Linked DNA regions of Homo sapiens: all the other regions are linked to region 1. Evidence: promoter capture Hi-C in 16 types of primary human blood cells and fetal thymus (Javierre and others, 2016). All regions are on one chromosome and are shown on one strand. The core of a region is centred on a gene start or on the middle of the fragment in contact, and the rest is flanking DNA. Distances in the headings are between cores, read along the strand shown. Region 1 holds the start of CARTPT (CART prepropeptide). Region 2 has its middle 96 kb from the start of MAP1B. Region 3 overlaps LOC124901000 (a long non-coding RNA gene). Region 4 overlaps BDP1 (BDP1 general transcription factor IIIB subunit).

What was found. The method cuts DNA at HindIII sites, captures the fragments that hold promoters and counts their contacts. A CHiCAGO score of 5 or more calls a contact.
Region 2: a contact is called between a fragment that was not itself captured here and the fragment with the promoter of CARTPT in region 1, in 2 of 17 cell types (M1 macrophages and M2 macrophages). The highest score is 6.3, in M1 macrophages.
Region 3: a contact is called between a fragment that was not itself captured here and the fragment with the promoter of CARTPT in region 1, in 2 of 17 cell types (M2 macrophages and endothelial precursors). The highest score is 6.7, in M2 macrophages.
Region 4: a contact is called between a fragment that was not itself captured here and the fragment with the promoter of CARTPT in region 1, in 1 of 17 cell types (endothelial precursors). The highest score is 7.4, in endothelial precursors.

Annotation. Positions count from the first base shown.
Region 1 is chr5:71,717,285-71,721,260 of GRCh38, forward strand. CARTPT (CART prepropeptide) reads left to right here and starts at 1,991. Exons shown (of 3, transcript NM_004291.4): 1 at 1,991-2,168; 2 at 2,596-2,679; 3 at 3,224-3,761. The coding sequence starts at 2,010. The coding sequence ends at 3,331. RefSeq lists an enhancer at 2,129-3,015. The HindIII fragment of the contact is 2,457 bases long and covers 1,144-3,600 here.
Region 2 is chr5:72,009,491-72,013,466 of GRCh38, forward strand. No RefSeq gene overlaps it. Among named protein-coding and RNA genes, the nearest start is that of MAP1B, 96 kb to the right of the region's middle. The HindIII fragment of the contact is 3,969 bases long and covers 1-3,952 here.
Region 3 is chr5:71,979,874-71,983,849 of GRCh38, forward strand. All of the region lies in intron 1 of LOC124901000 (a long non-coding RNA gene), which reads left to right. Among named protein-coding and RNA genes, the nearest start is that of MAP1B, 130 kb to the right of the region's middle. The HindIII fragment of the contact is 1,539 bases long and covers 1,010-2,548 here.
Region 4 is chr5:71,457,542-71,461,517 of GRCh38, forward strand. It overlaps BDP1 (BDP1 general transcription factor IIIB subunit), which reads left to right. Exons shown (of 39, transcript NM_018429.3): 2 at 1,038-1,314. Among named protein-coding and RNA genes, the nearest start is that of BDP1, 3.9 kb to the left of the region's middle. The HindIII fragment of the contact is 2,309 bases long and covers 735-3,043 here.

The DNA.
Region 1 (3,976 bases), core at 741-3,240:
TGAGTGTCAATATGTCTCTGTAAGGTTTTAACAGTAAAACGTGCTGCCACTGAAGTTTTCTTGTGCAGAATCAAAAGGTATGTGTGGAAGGCAGAGCTGAGGGAGGTGTTAGATACATTTTCAAGTTGGGTTTACCCCACAGCAAAATATTTTGATGCTGTTAATATGTGTGCTATTCATTAGAAGAGATATCACTTCTTGAATTGCTTCCCAGTGAGTATTTGAGTACCAATTAAATACTTGATAGTTGAAGTAACCAGGCATATATTGTGTATTAAACTATCTTAATGACCCACATAATCTGCTATGCAATAAATTTGTGGGAGAAAAGTATTGATAGATGGTTTGGATTGAGTAGTCATAGATATTTACACTGAGATTTAAATAACAGAAGTAGTGAGCCTTTTGGAAATACAGGAAGACCTTTCAAGGAGGGGTAAGTGCAAAGACATCAAAGTATGAATGAGATTGGCCTGCTAGAGGACCAGAAAGAAGGCCATGTGAGGTTGGAGTGGAGGAGTCTGGGGCAGAGTGGTAGAACATGAGGTGGAGAGGGGTGAAGATCATATAATGCTTTGCAAGTCAGGATGAGGAATCTAGATTCAGTGCTTAGTAAGATTAGGAGTCATTAGTGTATTTTAAGGGGAAAAATACTCTGGTTGGTGGTGAACTATGGAGTAGAGGAAGGCAAGAGAAGATAGGGTGGGGATTAAGTGGTAGACATTAAGTTGACTGGGGCAGCTGTCTAGGACTGGGTTGTAGTAATGGGGATGGAGAAGAGTGGATGAATTTAGGAACAGTTGAGGGAAAGATGGTGTGGTGAAGGAAGCCAGGTGAGCAAGCAGGTCTAAGCGGGAAAGCATTGCTTTTCCTACAGGAATTTTCCTGTGCATTCAGGCTGTAAGGATCTCAACTTTTAAAAAAGCCACATTGTTCTCCCAAGTTGTTGGGGAGCTGGTTCACCATTGACTTCTGATCTCTGGAGATATTTTCATAATCATGGAGCTGTCTTTCTTTTCACTCTTTTACTCTCTTTCTAGACAGGCTTCTTGGATACCAAGGGTTGGTGGTGGGTGGGGGGAGGTTCTGGGGATGGTTAAATTTGCCTGGGCAGCCTCAAAGTTCAAAAAGGAGGGACAGGGAAGCTTAGCTAAGAACCAGGAGTTTGACATACTTAATCTCTCATTTCATCCTACTGATGACTTTGTGAGGTATATCTTTTTAATCCTAGATCTACAAAAGAGAAAGCTGAGGCTTGGAGAGGTTCTTCATTTTGTTCAAAGTCATACAACTTTTACGTGGTGTAGCCAGGATGGGAACCAGAGCCTGGCTCTCTGCACTTCCAACACCACTGCTGAATCCGGGTTTGTCTGTTTTCCCTCTCTTCTTTTAACTATTGTCACACAGATTCCATCATAGAACCCATCACGTGGAGGGCCACTATTTCTCTTTCTTTTGTATAGTATGTTTGCTTCCCCTACCCCACAGAGTAAGGTGCTCAGCAAATGTGGCTGTCTGGAGGCAACACCCCCTTCTCACCGCCACACTTGGGGTTGGGGTGCGAGGCAAGGCAGGGCTGGCGAGGTGGATGTTGCAGCTGTCACCACTGCTAGGTGTTGGGAAACGACTCTCCTGCCTGTGCATTGACCCGAAGGCATTTTCCATTTCCTAGGCCCCTCCCGCTTCCCGTCCCTCACCTCTAGCCCCTCGGCTTCAGCTCAGGCCCCTCGGGGAGCATCCCTTGCCGTGAGACTGACAGCCTTTGGGGGCGCAGGGTCCTGTTCTCTGCGCTCTAGCCCATCTGTGCGCAGAGCCTCGTTCCCAGGCGCCTGGAACCCGGCGGGCATTGACGTCAAGCGCCGGCGGAGCGCTGCCTACAGACGGTTGACCCGGGCCCTCCTCCACACCCCCTTCCTTCTTCGCCTCCTCCCTCTTTCCTGCACGGGGGCTCGGGCTCACTATAAAAGGTGGGAGCGCGTGGTGCCCCAGCAACGACGAGTTTCAGAACGATGGAGAGCTCCCGCGTGAGGCTGCTGCCCCTCCTGGGCGCCGCCCTGCTGCTGATGCTACCTCTGTTGGGTACCCGTGCCCAGGAGGACGCCGAGCTCCAGCCCCGAGCCCTGGACATCTACTCTGCCGTGGATGATGCCTCCCACGAGAAGGAGCTGGTCGGTATTCCCCTCGCTCTCGACCCCCTTGAGCTGTCGCCTTGTCTCTTCTCTTGCACGCCTCCCTCCTCCCCCCACCCCCACTCCTATTCCCAGAGTCAGGGCGCGGGGAGCTGAGCGCAACGCCCAGGCACCCACTGCCATCCGAAGAGCGTCTCGAGCTCACGGGCTCCTGGCAGTCTGTTGAGCGAATCCCTCATCCCGGCCCCTCTGAGCAACAGGGACCCCAGCGGCTCAGAGACCCGCGGTCAGTACCTGGGACAGCGTCCGCTAAGTTTCCACCCCTCGACCATTCCCTGTGTCCGCGGAGTCCCACCGCAGAGTGCGTGTGGGTCCGGGGCTCCTTATAACTAGGGCTGGAAGTGCGCACCTGGGCTGGGCTCGCAGCCAAGGCGGCAACTTCAGGCTCCGAAGCGGTGTGTTGCAGATCGAAGCGCTGCAAGAAGTCTTGAAGAAGCTCAAGAGTAAACGTGTTCCCATCTATGAGAAGAAGTATGGCCAAGTCCCCATGGTAAGGTTTGTGGTCACTCCCTTCCCGTGTTTTTCCAAGAGAAAGTACACCGCCTTGAATCGTACACACAGTCTTCTCCGTAGGATGTGGCTAAATAACTTAGGTAATGGGCTTGCAGGATTCTGTGGGCTCCTTCTTCCTTCCCGGGTGAGGAAATGGGAAAGCAGGAACAGGGGTTGTAAGAAAGTGTAAGTCTATTGTTTGTTGCTCAGGAAAAAGGTCTGATTTTTTTCCCCTCTGAGAGGGCAAGAAAAGGAGCCAGGAAATGTGATGCTCCCCTTCCCACGCCCCCCAACCCTCGCCACTTAAAGGTGGAAGAAACTAGGATAAAACTAATAATGTAAGTTTCTTTAAAAAATGTACTCTCACTGAGGTTATAAGCACAAGGCTCCCTGTTTCAGATCTGACTGTACGTAGACCTCTTGTGATGGTGATGGGGTCCAATTGCCCCTTTCAAGAGACAGAAATTGCGTTGACTGTGAGACTTGCCTGTTGGGAACCTGGGTTTGTTCATACTCGATGACCACACATTTTGTTGTTTCAGTGTGACGCCGGTGAGCAGTGTGCAGTGAGGAAAGGGGCAAGGATCGGGAAGCTGTGTGACTGTCCCCGAGGAACCTCCTGCAATTCCTTCCTCCTGAAGTGCTTATGAAGGGGCGTCCATTCTCCTCCATACATCCCCATCCCTCTACTTTCCCCAGAGGACCACACCTTCCTCCCTGGAGTTTGGCTTAAGCAACAGATAAAGTTTTTATTTTCCTCTGAAGGGAAAGGGCTCTTTTCCTGCTGTTTCAAAAATAAAAGAACACATTAGATGTTACTGTGTGAAGAATAATGCCTTGTATGGTGTTGATACGTGTGTGAAGTATTCTTATTTTATTTGTCTGACAAACTCTTGTGTACCTTTGTGTAAAGAAGGGAAGCTTTGTTTGAAAATTGTATTTTTGTATGTGGCATGGCAGAATGAAAATTAGATCTAGCTAATCTCGGTAGATGTCATTACAACCTGGAAAATAAATCACCCTAAGTGACACAAATTGAAGCATGTACAAATTATACATAATAAAGTGTTTTTAATAATTGCCCATAGTGCACTGCTGTTTTCATATAAGTAATTTAAGTGGAAATGGTGAGATTAATCATGCTGTTGTTTTCAAAGAAAAATATTTTAAAAATAGCAGCCTATTGGGAAAATGGCACCTTAGCTCCAAGGAGTTTTGATCGTTAATTAGAAGTTTGCCAAGCCAGTTTTAGTATACTCTATTTTTCTTTGATTGCAGCGATGTGGTGTGTGTAT
Region 2 (3,976 bases), core at 718-3,217, 290 kb after region 1:
TCCAAGTCCATGGTAGATTAGGGATAGCAATTTTAGAGTAGGGAGCCTGACAAGGAAGACAGCAGATAGAAAGGAAATGTGACTCCCAGCTCTGCCCTGCCGTGTTTATCCTCTCGCATGCAGGCTGATGAGCAAGAAAAACAAAGAATCAGACAGAAGAATTGAGGGGCTTTAGCATAAGGCAAATAGCTCTTTAACTACAACGTGAAACTGAGTCATCAGGAAAAAGCTGTACACCCTAGAGAAGGTGGCGAAGTGTGTGATATATTTTAGCAGCAATTCTATTGCAAGTCAGGTATTTAGAAATTTTAACTTTGGAAAAAAATAATGCTTGATGTATGCAGGGTTTACAACTTAGTAAACATTTTCACAAAGTTTGTCGTCACCACCAGTCTGTGAGCCTAGCTGAGCAAGCATTTTGCTTAGGAGCAAGGAAACGAATCCCAATGGCTTCAATGTCCTTCCCAGGCTGTCCACCCCGGGTTCCTCTGGCTCTCCACTTTGCGTGTTTCACCCTAGCAGTGTCGTCCTCCTTTCCTGGAACCCTTCCCTGGACACCTGCGCCAGGGCACTATTAAGTCAAAAGTAATAACACTGATGTGCTATAGGTGACTTCTCCGTGAACATACGCTTGAGGGCTGGACAGCCCAGTTTGACTCCTGGCTTAGTCACTTAATAGTAGTGTGGCCTCTCTGGGCCTCAATTTACAGATCTGCCACATGGGGGTAATAGTTCTACCTACACCTTAGGGTTATTTGTGATAATTAAATGAGTTCATTTACATAAAGCATTTAAACAAATACATAATATGCATTACCCAACCTATCCAGAACAAATGTGAATTCAGAAGTAGTTAGGAAAAATATATAAATGATTTGAGAGTACAAACTTGAATAGGATAATGCATCCCTGCTCTTCATAGAATATTTTAGTGCTTCTGTCCTAGTCCTACTTGATTACTAAATAGGTTTTATTCCAACTTAAAATTATTTACTTATATTTTTAAAAGTTGGGTTTATGGCCCAATAAGCTAATCATGTTTGAGTGCCAGCAAACTGGTACAGTCTGTTCCTGCTTTTAATTTATGATGTGGTTTGAGTCCCTGTGTTTGCAAAAATTTGGGAACATTGTTAATGACAATGTAATAAAAGATTTTAGTAAACAAATTTTAAGTACACAAATGAGGGCTGTGCCGCACGCAGCCTCATGCTGACTTCCTTGCCTGGTGAAGCGTCCTGCTTTAAGAAAGCAAAGTTGCCATTTTTTTACATTATAACAAGACCCTTAGTTAATGACAACTGTATGATGTTTATAGGAAGCCGCAGAACAATCCTGTGTTCTACTGGCAGCTGGTGGTTGGAGTAGCAATTGGGAAGATGTCAAAAATTCACACTTGGTTTTTAGCAAATAAATGTTTCAATGTTACTTGATGCAAAACCCTCTATTTTTCTTACAGTATTTTGGAATTGGCTGGAAAATGAGGAAGAAAGGGTGAACTGCTCGGGGGGAGCCCTCGAGAGGATCTTCCTTTTTTGTGCACTCTGTATTATTAAAGCAGCCCCACAGCGATTGTGCCTTGTCTCCCCTCTCTGTCCTCTTCTGATCATTTCTATTTATGAACATAATTTTACGTAATTTTAGTCATAATGTGGATATTGTTTTGTATTCTTAATTTTTCACCTATCATAAGCAATGCAAAAACATTTCTGCAAAGTCTCCACTTTTCTTCCTTAAAGTTGTGTGTTATTTTCTCTTATAAATTCAGCACTAGTTTATTTGCATCCTTGAACATTTTCCAGTATTTTTCTGTAATTATCTTTTTACATGTAGTTTTTGTCTTTTTTTTCTTCTTTTGAGTTGCTGTCCTGAGACTGTTGCCCAAGGTTGGGATTGAGGAATCAAAGAATGTGAACACTTCTGTTACATCGTACTGTTGGGACTTCCAAAAAAATGTGAACTAACTTATCATTGTGGAAGTGATTCTTTTTAAGGGAAGATAAAAGACAATTCTATATTTTTGAGAAAAGAGAGACAGGGCAAGAGAAGTATCAAAAGGAAAGAAAAGATGAGGAATAGCATTAAGGGCCCATTACAAATAGGATATAAAAAAAAAATCCTGAAACCCATGAGATGAGACAAGAGGGGATGTGGAAGAGAAGAGAACACCTCTTTTTTTTTTTTTTTTTTCCTCAAGACGGAGTTTCGCTCTTATTGCCCAGGCTGGAGTGCAATGGCGTGATCTCAGCTCACCACAACCTCTGGCTCCCAGGTTCAAGCGATTCTCCTGCCTCAGCCTCCTGAGTAGCTGGGATTACAGGCATGTACCAGCATGCTCGGCTAATTTTGTATTTTTAATAGAGACAGAGTTTCTCCACGTTGGTCAGGCTGGTCTTGAAATTCGGACCTCAGGTGATCTGCCTGCCTTGGCCTCCCAAAGTGCTGGGTGTGAGCCACCGCGCCCGGCCGAGAACACCTCTTTACCTTTTAAAAGGAGCTGGCTGATCCTTAAAGAATCCTCACCTGACTGCTTTTCTTTCTGAAAGCACGTAGGGAACATAGGCATGAACTCTTGCCATCTGCAAGGATCCCAAACTCAAGGGCATGTTGGATTTCAAAATGCAGGTCGCATGTTTATAACTTAAAATATAATTTCCCATGAGAAAAAAAGTAATAATAATGACATTTCACTTTTTAATCATTTTACAGTTTGGGGATATGGTACAGTTGTTCCAGTATAAATGGATATGTGGTTTCATTTGAGCCTCACAACAATTTTGGGCAGTAGGGTTGACTCTGTTTGGTTTGACACATACTAAGAAACTCAGAGCAAGAGACTTAGTATTGTCATAGCAATACATATGTGGAGTGCTTTTTTTATTTAAATGAAATTCACTGGTGGGAAACCAAAGCCCAGACTTTTCCAAAAATGGCATCTCCCTCCTCCTCCCCTCTTCCTCCTCTAACCCATGTCCTCTGGGCTAACCTTGCCTCTTTCCACATCAACACACTTGGCCACATTCCTGGTGTAGCACGTAAAAGGCTGTTTTACCCATGATTATTAATAATTTAGAAAAAGGGCAAGTTAGAAAAATATTTGCCTCCTAATTTCAAGATTTGAGGCAGTCTGTAGGCAATGATGTGAAATACATTATGCTAAGGTTATCTTTCAAGCCTTGGGCCTGTTTTGTTATACCGCTGATGCTCTTTTCCCTGACCCAGCTCCAAAGATATGAAATCAGATTGTCTGGAGTTGTGGTTCAAGGCTCTGTATTATAAAACAGACAAACAAAAACAAAAACAAAACTCTAACATGAAAGGAGACTTAAATGAAAAGATAAAGCATTTCTTATGTAAATAACAAGAAGACAACATAGAGGTGTCATTTCTCCCTAAATGAACTTTTATGTTAAATACTTCAAGATGATACTTGGAGAAAAAAAAAACTGTGAAGGGATTAGCTGATGCTAACGTTTGCTTGGGAAAATTAACAAGCATGAACAGGCTGGAATTTCTGAAAAAGAAAAGTAGTGGGGGGATTTGCCTTATGGGATTTTATAGCACGTTAGGAAGAAGCCAGCTCCTGCTGTCTTGTGGCTCTGGCACCTTCCTCACGCAGAGGCATAAGGTGACCTAAAGTCACTGTGCTTGTCTTCATCATGCCAGCACTGAGTTTTTGAGGAGATAAGTCTGGCTGTGTGCAAAGCAGGTGGAGCCAGACATAAGAGGAATGACTTCATTCTATAAGAACATTAGAGAGACTGTGGCTTGTAAGATTGAAGAAGACGTGTGTTGGTGGGGGTGTGGGGAAATGGCCACTCTCTTCTATCGGGAGTGGGTATTTATGCTTCAGATACACATGTATGAAGTATTATGTATATAAGAATCTTCTCGAAAATCTGCTAACCCTTCAACTCATTTCTTTCTTTCCTTCTGAACCCCCGTGTTATTCAAAAGCTTCCAATCCCCCAAATGTCTC
Region 3 (3,976 bases), core at 529-3,028, 260 kb after region 1:
TGGGTCCACTGAGAGAACTTTTGAGTGTGCAAAACTTGTTTATTATTGTGTACATATATTCGAGTTTTTTTCAACCAAATATGGATCAAAAATACAGTATTTGCTGGATGCAAAACCCATGTTTATGAAAAGCCAGATTTTCCTATACGTGGGTTCTGCAGGGCCAACTACAGGACTTGAATATGTGTGCATTTTGGGATATTCTGGTGTCCTGGAACCAATCCCCTGCATATATCAAGAGATGACTCTATGAACGCATATATTATAGAGAAATTGCTGAATCATAGGGTATGCATATGTTCAGTTCTGTAAGGTACTGCCAATTGTTTCCCAAAGTGTTTGTGATAACTCATACTCCTACTAATAGCATGAAAGTTTTTGTTTCATAACAACAATACTTAACATTGTCTGATCTTTAAAGTTTTGTCAAACTGGAAGTTGTGAAATGGTATCTCACTGTAGTTTTAATTTTCACTTCTGTGAATACAAAAGTTTGATAATTTTTTCGTTGTTTATCAGCCTTAGTATTTTTTTGTGAAATTTTTCATAATTTTTCCCATTTTATTGAATTGGCAATCTCTGTATTATTAATTTGTAGGAATTTTGTATACATTCTAAATACTAAATCTTTGTTTATATTAGTTGCAAATATCTTGTCACAATTTGTGGCTTGTCTTCATTGTCTTTATAGTGTTTTTTAGAAAAAAAATTTTCAATTTTCATATATTGTTTTATCAATCTTCTCCTTTATGGATTATACTTTGTATATTTATATTTTTAAATTTTTATTTTTAATTGACAAATAACAATTATATGTACTTATGAGGTACAATGTGATGTTTTGATATGCTTACAATGTGGATTGATTAAATCAGGACAATTAACAAATCCATCGCTACATACTTATCACTTTTTGTGGTGAAAACATTTAAAATCTCTTTTAGCAATTTTGAAATACACAATGCATTATTATTTATCATAGTCACGATTCTGTTTAATAGATCACTAAAGCTTATTCCTCTTGTCTGACTGAAACTGTTGTTCATCACATTTAAGATGTTGAAAAGGAGTAGTAAAAGCAGATATTTTTCGATGTTTCCTGATCTCAAGCATTTTTACCATTAAGTATGTTGTTTACTGTTACTTTTCTTTCACTTATCATGTTAAGGAAATTTCTTTTTATTCTAAGTTTCATAAGAGTTATATTTTTGTTAAATCCGAAAGAATGATATATTTTATCAAATGCTCTTTCTGCGTCTCTTCTGTCGACCATGTGTTTACTCTTATAATTTATGACTATGATAGATTGTACTTACTAACTTTTAAAGGTTCAACCAGCCTTACATTCTTAGGATATACCCAATTTGATCTTGACGTTTCATCTGTCTTTACACATCGCTGAATTCATTTTGTTAATATTTTGTTTAGGATTCTTGCATCTACTTTTTAAGTGAGAATGGCCTGATATCTGCCTTTTTATTCTTATCTGAATATGTTATGATGGATATTCTGGATTCATAGAATGATTTGGAATATGTCCTCTTTTTATTGTTTTTTTTTTACAGCTTTATAGAGGTATAATCTATATAAAGCTAACATCCCCCTTTTTTTGCCAGAAGACAATGAAGAAAACATCTACCTTTTTTTAAGCGTACAGTTTGATGTGTTTTGGAAAAATGTATGCCTTATGCAGCTATCACCATGAGTTTTACAATACTATTATCACTCTGAAAAATTGTGGACAATTACAGTTGGATCTTTTTTAAAAAATCCAGTGTATCAATCTATGTCTTTTGATTAAAGTATTTAGTGCAGTCACATTTAGTGTAATAATTGATATGTTTGGATTTGTTTATGACTTTTTGCTATTTTATATTTGTCTAATCTCTCATTTTTCTTCCATAACTGCTTTATTTCTTACTTTGCACTACATAAATATCTTTTATTGTACTATTTTAACTCCTCTATTAACTTTTAGCTATATTTCTTTGAATTATTTTTGGTGATTATTCTGGGGATTAATATATGTGTCTTTATTTTATTATAGTCTACTTTAAGTAGCCTTATTTTCAATAAGAGATAATATGTTTGCCCCAATATAGCTTCATTACATTCCTCTTCTTTGTAATATTATTGTCATATATGTTTTCCCTTCAGCCTGAAGGACCTCCTTCAACATTTCTCATAGTGCATGTCTGCCAGGATTGATTTCCTCACATTTTGTTTATCTTGAAATTTTCTTATTTTGCTTTCATTTTGAGGAATAACTTTATTGACTATAAAATTCTTAGTTTACAGTATTTTTTCTTTATGCACTTTGAAAATGTTTGTGCAACGTATTTTGACGTCCATTTTGTATGGCAAGAAGCCAGCCATTAATTGCATCATTGTTCCCCTATATGAAATGGTCATTTTTCTTGTTGCTTTGAAGATTTTTCTCATTAGCTTTCAGTAATTTGAATATGATGCATCTAGATATGGTTTTCTTTGTGTCTATACTACTGGGATACATTGAGCATCTTGGACCTGGAAGTTAATGTTTTCACCAAGCTTGGGAAACTTTGTGTTATTATTTCTTCATATACTTTCCTGCTTCTTTCTCTCTGTTCTTCTGGAACTCCATTTAGACATATGATAAAATGGTTCATATTTCCCAGTAGATCTCTCAGTCTCTTCATTTTTCTTCCATCTTTTTTCACTGTGTTCTATGTTCAAGGTCACTGATCCTTTCCTCTGCTATCTCAAATCTGCTATTGAGGCCATTTAGTAAATTTTCTTTATTTTAGTTAGTGTATCTTTCAGTTTTAGAATTTCCATTTGATTCATTTTTATAGTTTTCATGTATCTGTTAGGGTCCCTATGTGTTCACTCATTATTAGTATATTTTCCTTTATTTTAAAGATATAATTTATTTTAATTTGTTGAATATATTTATAGTAGCTACTTTCATATCTTTGTATGCTAAATTCAACATCTGTGCCTGCTTAGAATCAGTTTCTATTGACTTCCTTTTTTCGTGAGTATGAGTAACACTTTCCTATTCTTTGCCTGTCTAGTAATTTTTGGTTAAAACCTGGGTATTGTAGGTAATACACAATAGCAATTCTGGATTTGGGGTCTTGGGGGGGTAATTGTTTTCTTGTTTGTTTGTTTTAATGGGCAATTTAATTTTCTGGACTAAAGCTTCAAAATCTGTCTCCTTTATGGTGTGAAGTTGCTGATGTCTCTGCTCAGATTGGCTTTTAAAAAACACCTGGCCCCTTGGGGCTCTCTCCTGTGCTTGCATAGTTTAGTGGTCAGCCAGCAATTAGTGCTGAGGGTGTGTTCAGACACATCAAGTCAGTAAGACTTCCACCTTCTGACCTCAAGAAAATTCGGACTTTCACTTTCCTCCTCTGCACACTTGTAATGGTGTAGTTTAGCAGTCAGAATGAGGGTGTGTAGAGAGTTTATTATTTCAGCTCTTCCATGACTCTTTTGCCTCCAAAATGTCCCCCTTAAATTTCTAGCAGTTTTCCACTAATCCTGAACCAAACCTGCCACTTCTTGCAAATAAAGCTGCAGGGTTTCCCTGCAGAGCTATAGGGGATAGGGAAACCCCACACGAGAAGGCTCAAATTCACTGTTCTATGGAACAATCTTTTTGTTCTGCCATTCTTAGAACTAAAGTCTTAGATATGCTTTTCCTGATATAGCCTTCATATGCTATTCCCATACTTTTCTGTGGGTCTATAAACAGGAAACATTTTTTTCTACTCGGGAATTGTTGGACAAGCTCTTGGAGGTTTTCTTCATGCTTCATACATAAGTATACATCTGCTGGACATTCACAAAACATAGTTTGTGAGTCCTAGGGACTTAGACTGTGACTCCTCCCAGTACTCTGGCAGGTTCTTGAGGCTTAAGCCACAGCTTCTTCTAGTTATCCTGCACCTCCGAGTAAATTTTGGCAAGAATTCCAAGACATGGCCAATAA
Region 4 (3,976 bases), core at 639-3,138, 260 kb before region 1:
CTGACCTCAAGTGATCCACCTGCCTCAGCCCAAAGTGCTGGGGTTACAGGTGTGAGCCACCGTGCCCAGCCTCTTTTTATTTTTTTGTGGGTCTTTGCTAGTTGTAAAACTCTATAGGATATATATTCTGTCATTATGCATTCAACATAATTGGGTGAAATGCAGATAATGCATGTATCCATAACAGCTAAGATACGAATTTAAATTGAAGTCTTCCTGGAAAGGTTATTCTATAAGTTAAGGCATTTTCTAATTTTTTATAAGTAATTATAAAATAGGAAAAAAGTAGACTGTTTTTAATTATTGACTTATACCACCTCTTTTCTTGACTTAAGTTGCATTTATAGACCATTCCTGAAATACTTATATCTGAGGTATACCATACCTAATATGCAATTTGGGGTGACTGAGTACTTTTTTTGACTGAAGTTTATTCTGATGGCTGTATAAGTAGAGTTGTACCTGACAAAAGATAAATGATTTCTGCCTCAAAGGGAATTGGGTTTGGCTACTGTAACTAAATGTTTTTCTTCAAATACTGCAATACAGATATTTCAGAGGTTTGGAGTTTTGCATATTTGATTTGACTGACCTCGGGTTGATAAGTAAAGTAAAATGCCGGTAGTTTAGACCAGTTTAAAATGTCAGAGTGAATTAAAATTTTTTTAAATTTTATATAGAAATTAATTATAAATTATTACTTTGTTACTTAGTAATTCAAATTAGGTTGACTAAGCTTTGTTCTGTAAGTTGGTTATTTGTTTTGAGGGGGGTAAGCCTATAATTATGTGCTGTAATGTGCCTAGGGACTTTATGTTTGAAAAAGATTAAGAGTCTATTAGAATTTACGTATATTTAAAAGATTTACTAAACAAATTTTTTTGTAACCTGTCATAATTATCATAAATCTCAAGTTACTAATTTTTTTTTTTTAATTACGAGATTGCAGTTTTGGATTTTCACCAGACTAGGTTTTAAAACTAGCATGTGTAACAGAAGATTCATGTGCCCTCTTTTTTCTTTTTTAATTTCAACAGTACTGAAAAGACTGGTGGTGACAATGATGTTGAAGAATCCAGTAGATCTTCCTCTACTGTTTCACAGAGAAGAAAGCGAATATCAAGTACTTCTAGCCTGGTTAAGTCTAGTGTCAGTGTTCCTTCAGAATCTCATCCCTTATCTACAATTAATCAAGAGGCTCCACAGCCAACTGCCACTTCAACAAAAGAGAAACAGCCATGCTCAGACAGATACCGAATATACAAAGCCCAGAAACTGAGGGAAATGTTAAAAGAAGAATTGAGAAAAGAGAAGGTAAGGGAGGAGAATCAGGATTTTGATGTTGCCTTCTATTTATGTTAGTAAGGAATCATTGGGAAGAAAAGCATTTGTAGCATTTTGATGGGGGAACAAAACCACATAACATCCCTTAGTCAATAGAACATCCCTTCTTGTTAATGGATTGATTGATACACCGTGGACTTAAATTACATTTTTCACTGATAGTAATTTTTACATTATTTATTTATGTTTTCACTGTTTTTGGTGAAGACCACAAATAAGTTTCATACGCATACACATAGATGCACATACACAAACATATTTATAAAATAAACCTTCAGTCTGATTTTTCACATAAAGATGTCCAAGTGATAAGTGATATATTTATTTGAATTAAGACAAGTATAGGCCGGGCGTGGTGGCTCATGCCTGTAATCCCAGCACTTTGGGAGGACTAGGGGGGCAGATCACTTGAGGTCAGGAGTTCAAGACCAGCCTGGCCAACATGGCAAAACCCTGTCTCTACTAAAAATACAAAAATTAGCTGGGCCTGGTGACGTGCATCTGTAATCCCAACTACTGGGGAGGCTGAGGCATGAGAATTGCTTGAACCTGGGAGGTGGAAGTTGCAGTGAGCCGAGATTGTGCCTCTGCATTCCAGCCTGGGTGATAGAGTGAAACTGTCTCCAAAAAAAAGACGAATATAGTTGAGCAGAATGAATTGGTAATGTTTTCTAAATTGACTATGGAAAATTACAAGTGGGAAAAATTTGTGTTATGCATATATTAGAGTCCATGTTCTTTTTAATCTTGAGGATTGATTTCTTTTCTAGAAGGGCAGGTAACAGCAGTAGAGCATGCTGGCCCTGGAGTTAAATACTTAGGGATTGAATCTCAGCTTCATTTCTTTACTAGCTTTGTGACCTTGGGTAATTTAATTAATCTATTTCCTCATCTGTAAAATAGACCAATAATAGTTCAGGTTGAGCATCCCTGAAATTGAAAATGCTCCAAAGTCTAAAATGTTTTGAGTGCCAAAGTGATGCTCCAGGGAAATGCTCATTGGAGCATATTGGATTTCAAATTTTCAGGTTAGAGATGCTCAGCCAGCATGTATTCTGCAAGTATTCAAAAATGTGAAAAAATCCAAAATGTGAATCATTTCTGGTCTCAAGTATTTCAGATAAGAGATGCTCAACCTCTATCTAGCTCATTAGAGGGTTGTGAAGATTAAATGAGTCAATACATGTAAAACACACTTAAACTGGTGTCTTGGGCCTTGTGCAGTGGCTCACGCCTGTAATCCCAGCACTTTGGGAGGCCGAGGTGGGCGGATCACCTGAGGTCAGGAGTTCGAGACCAGCCTGGCCAACATGGTGAAACCCCGTCTCTACTAAAAATACAAACATTATCTGGTTGTGGTGGTGCACGCCTGTAATCCCAGCTACTCAGGAGGCTGAGACAGGAGAATCGCTTGAACCTGGGAGGCAGAGGTTGCGGTGAGCCAAAATCGTGCCATTGCACTCCAGCATGAGTGACAGAGCGAGACTCCGTCTCAAAAAAAACCAACCAAACAAAAAAACTAGTGTCATGAAAATAGTAAGTGTCCAACCAGTGTCAGCTTCTGTTATGAATTATAAAATGCCTCTTAGTTTTTTTTAAATTAAGGGAAGGCATTTTGCTTGGTGCTTTATATCTGTTATCTTATGTAATTATATCAACTATGTGAAGTAGATATCACTGTTTCACACAGGAGAAAACAAGCTTTCAATTTATGTCTTCTAAAATGTAAGCCTCACAACAATTGCTTGAACCTGGAAGGCGGAGGTTGCAGTGAGCTGAAATTGTGCTACTGCATTCCAGCCTGGGCGACAGATCAAAGCCTCTAAAAATGTTTTATGGGTTGGGAATTGGGGGTGGGGGGATTAAAAAAAAGTTCTGTATTTTACAGAAACTGCTTATTTGCTTATTTAATTTATTTTGGGGAATTAAAGATTAAACATTTGCTTCAAGAATTTTACAAAATACACAGAATTTCAAGTCACTACAGGGTAAAAAAAAAGCTGTGTAAGCATAAATTCTCAGTGAGCTATTAAGATGTTTAGTTAGAAGGCATCAGTAAGCATTTTATACATTGAGCTTTATTAGTTTTATTCTTTGGTTATTTATTTAGTTTTGAGACAAGGTCTCACTGTCACCCAGGATGGAGTGCGCTAGTATAATTGCAGTTCACTGCAGCCTCAACCTCCCAGGCTCAAGTGATCCTCCCACCTCAGCCTCCCAAGTAGCTGTGGCTATAGGCATATGCCACCACATCCAGCTAATTTTTTTGTATTTTTTTGTAGAGATAGGGTCTCATTTATGTTGCCCAGGCTGGTAACTCCTGAGCTCAAGCGATCCTCCTGCCTCAGCCTCCCAAAGTGCTGGGATTAGAGAAATAAGCCACTGTGCCTGGCCACATTGAGCTTTTATCTAGTCCTAGTCACTTTAATTGTTAAAATCTAAATACTGCCTGGGTGTGTGGTTCACTCCAGTGCTTTAGGAGTGTGAGGCAGGAGGATCACTTGAGCCCAGGAATTTGAGAGCAGCCTTGGCAACGTAGGGAGACTCCATCTCTACCAAAAAAAAAAAAACCCCACAAAATTAGCCAGGTGTTAGGCAAGCATCTGTAGTCCCAGCTACTTGGGAGGCTGAG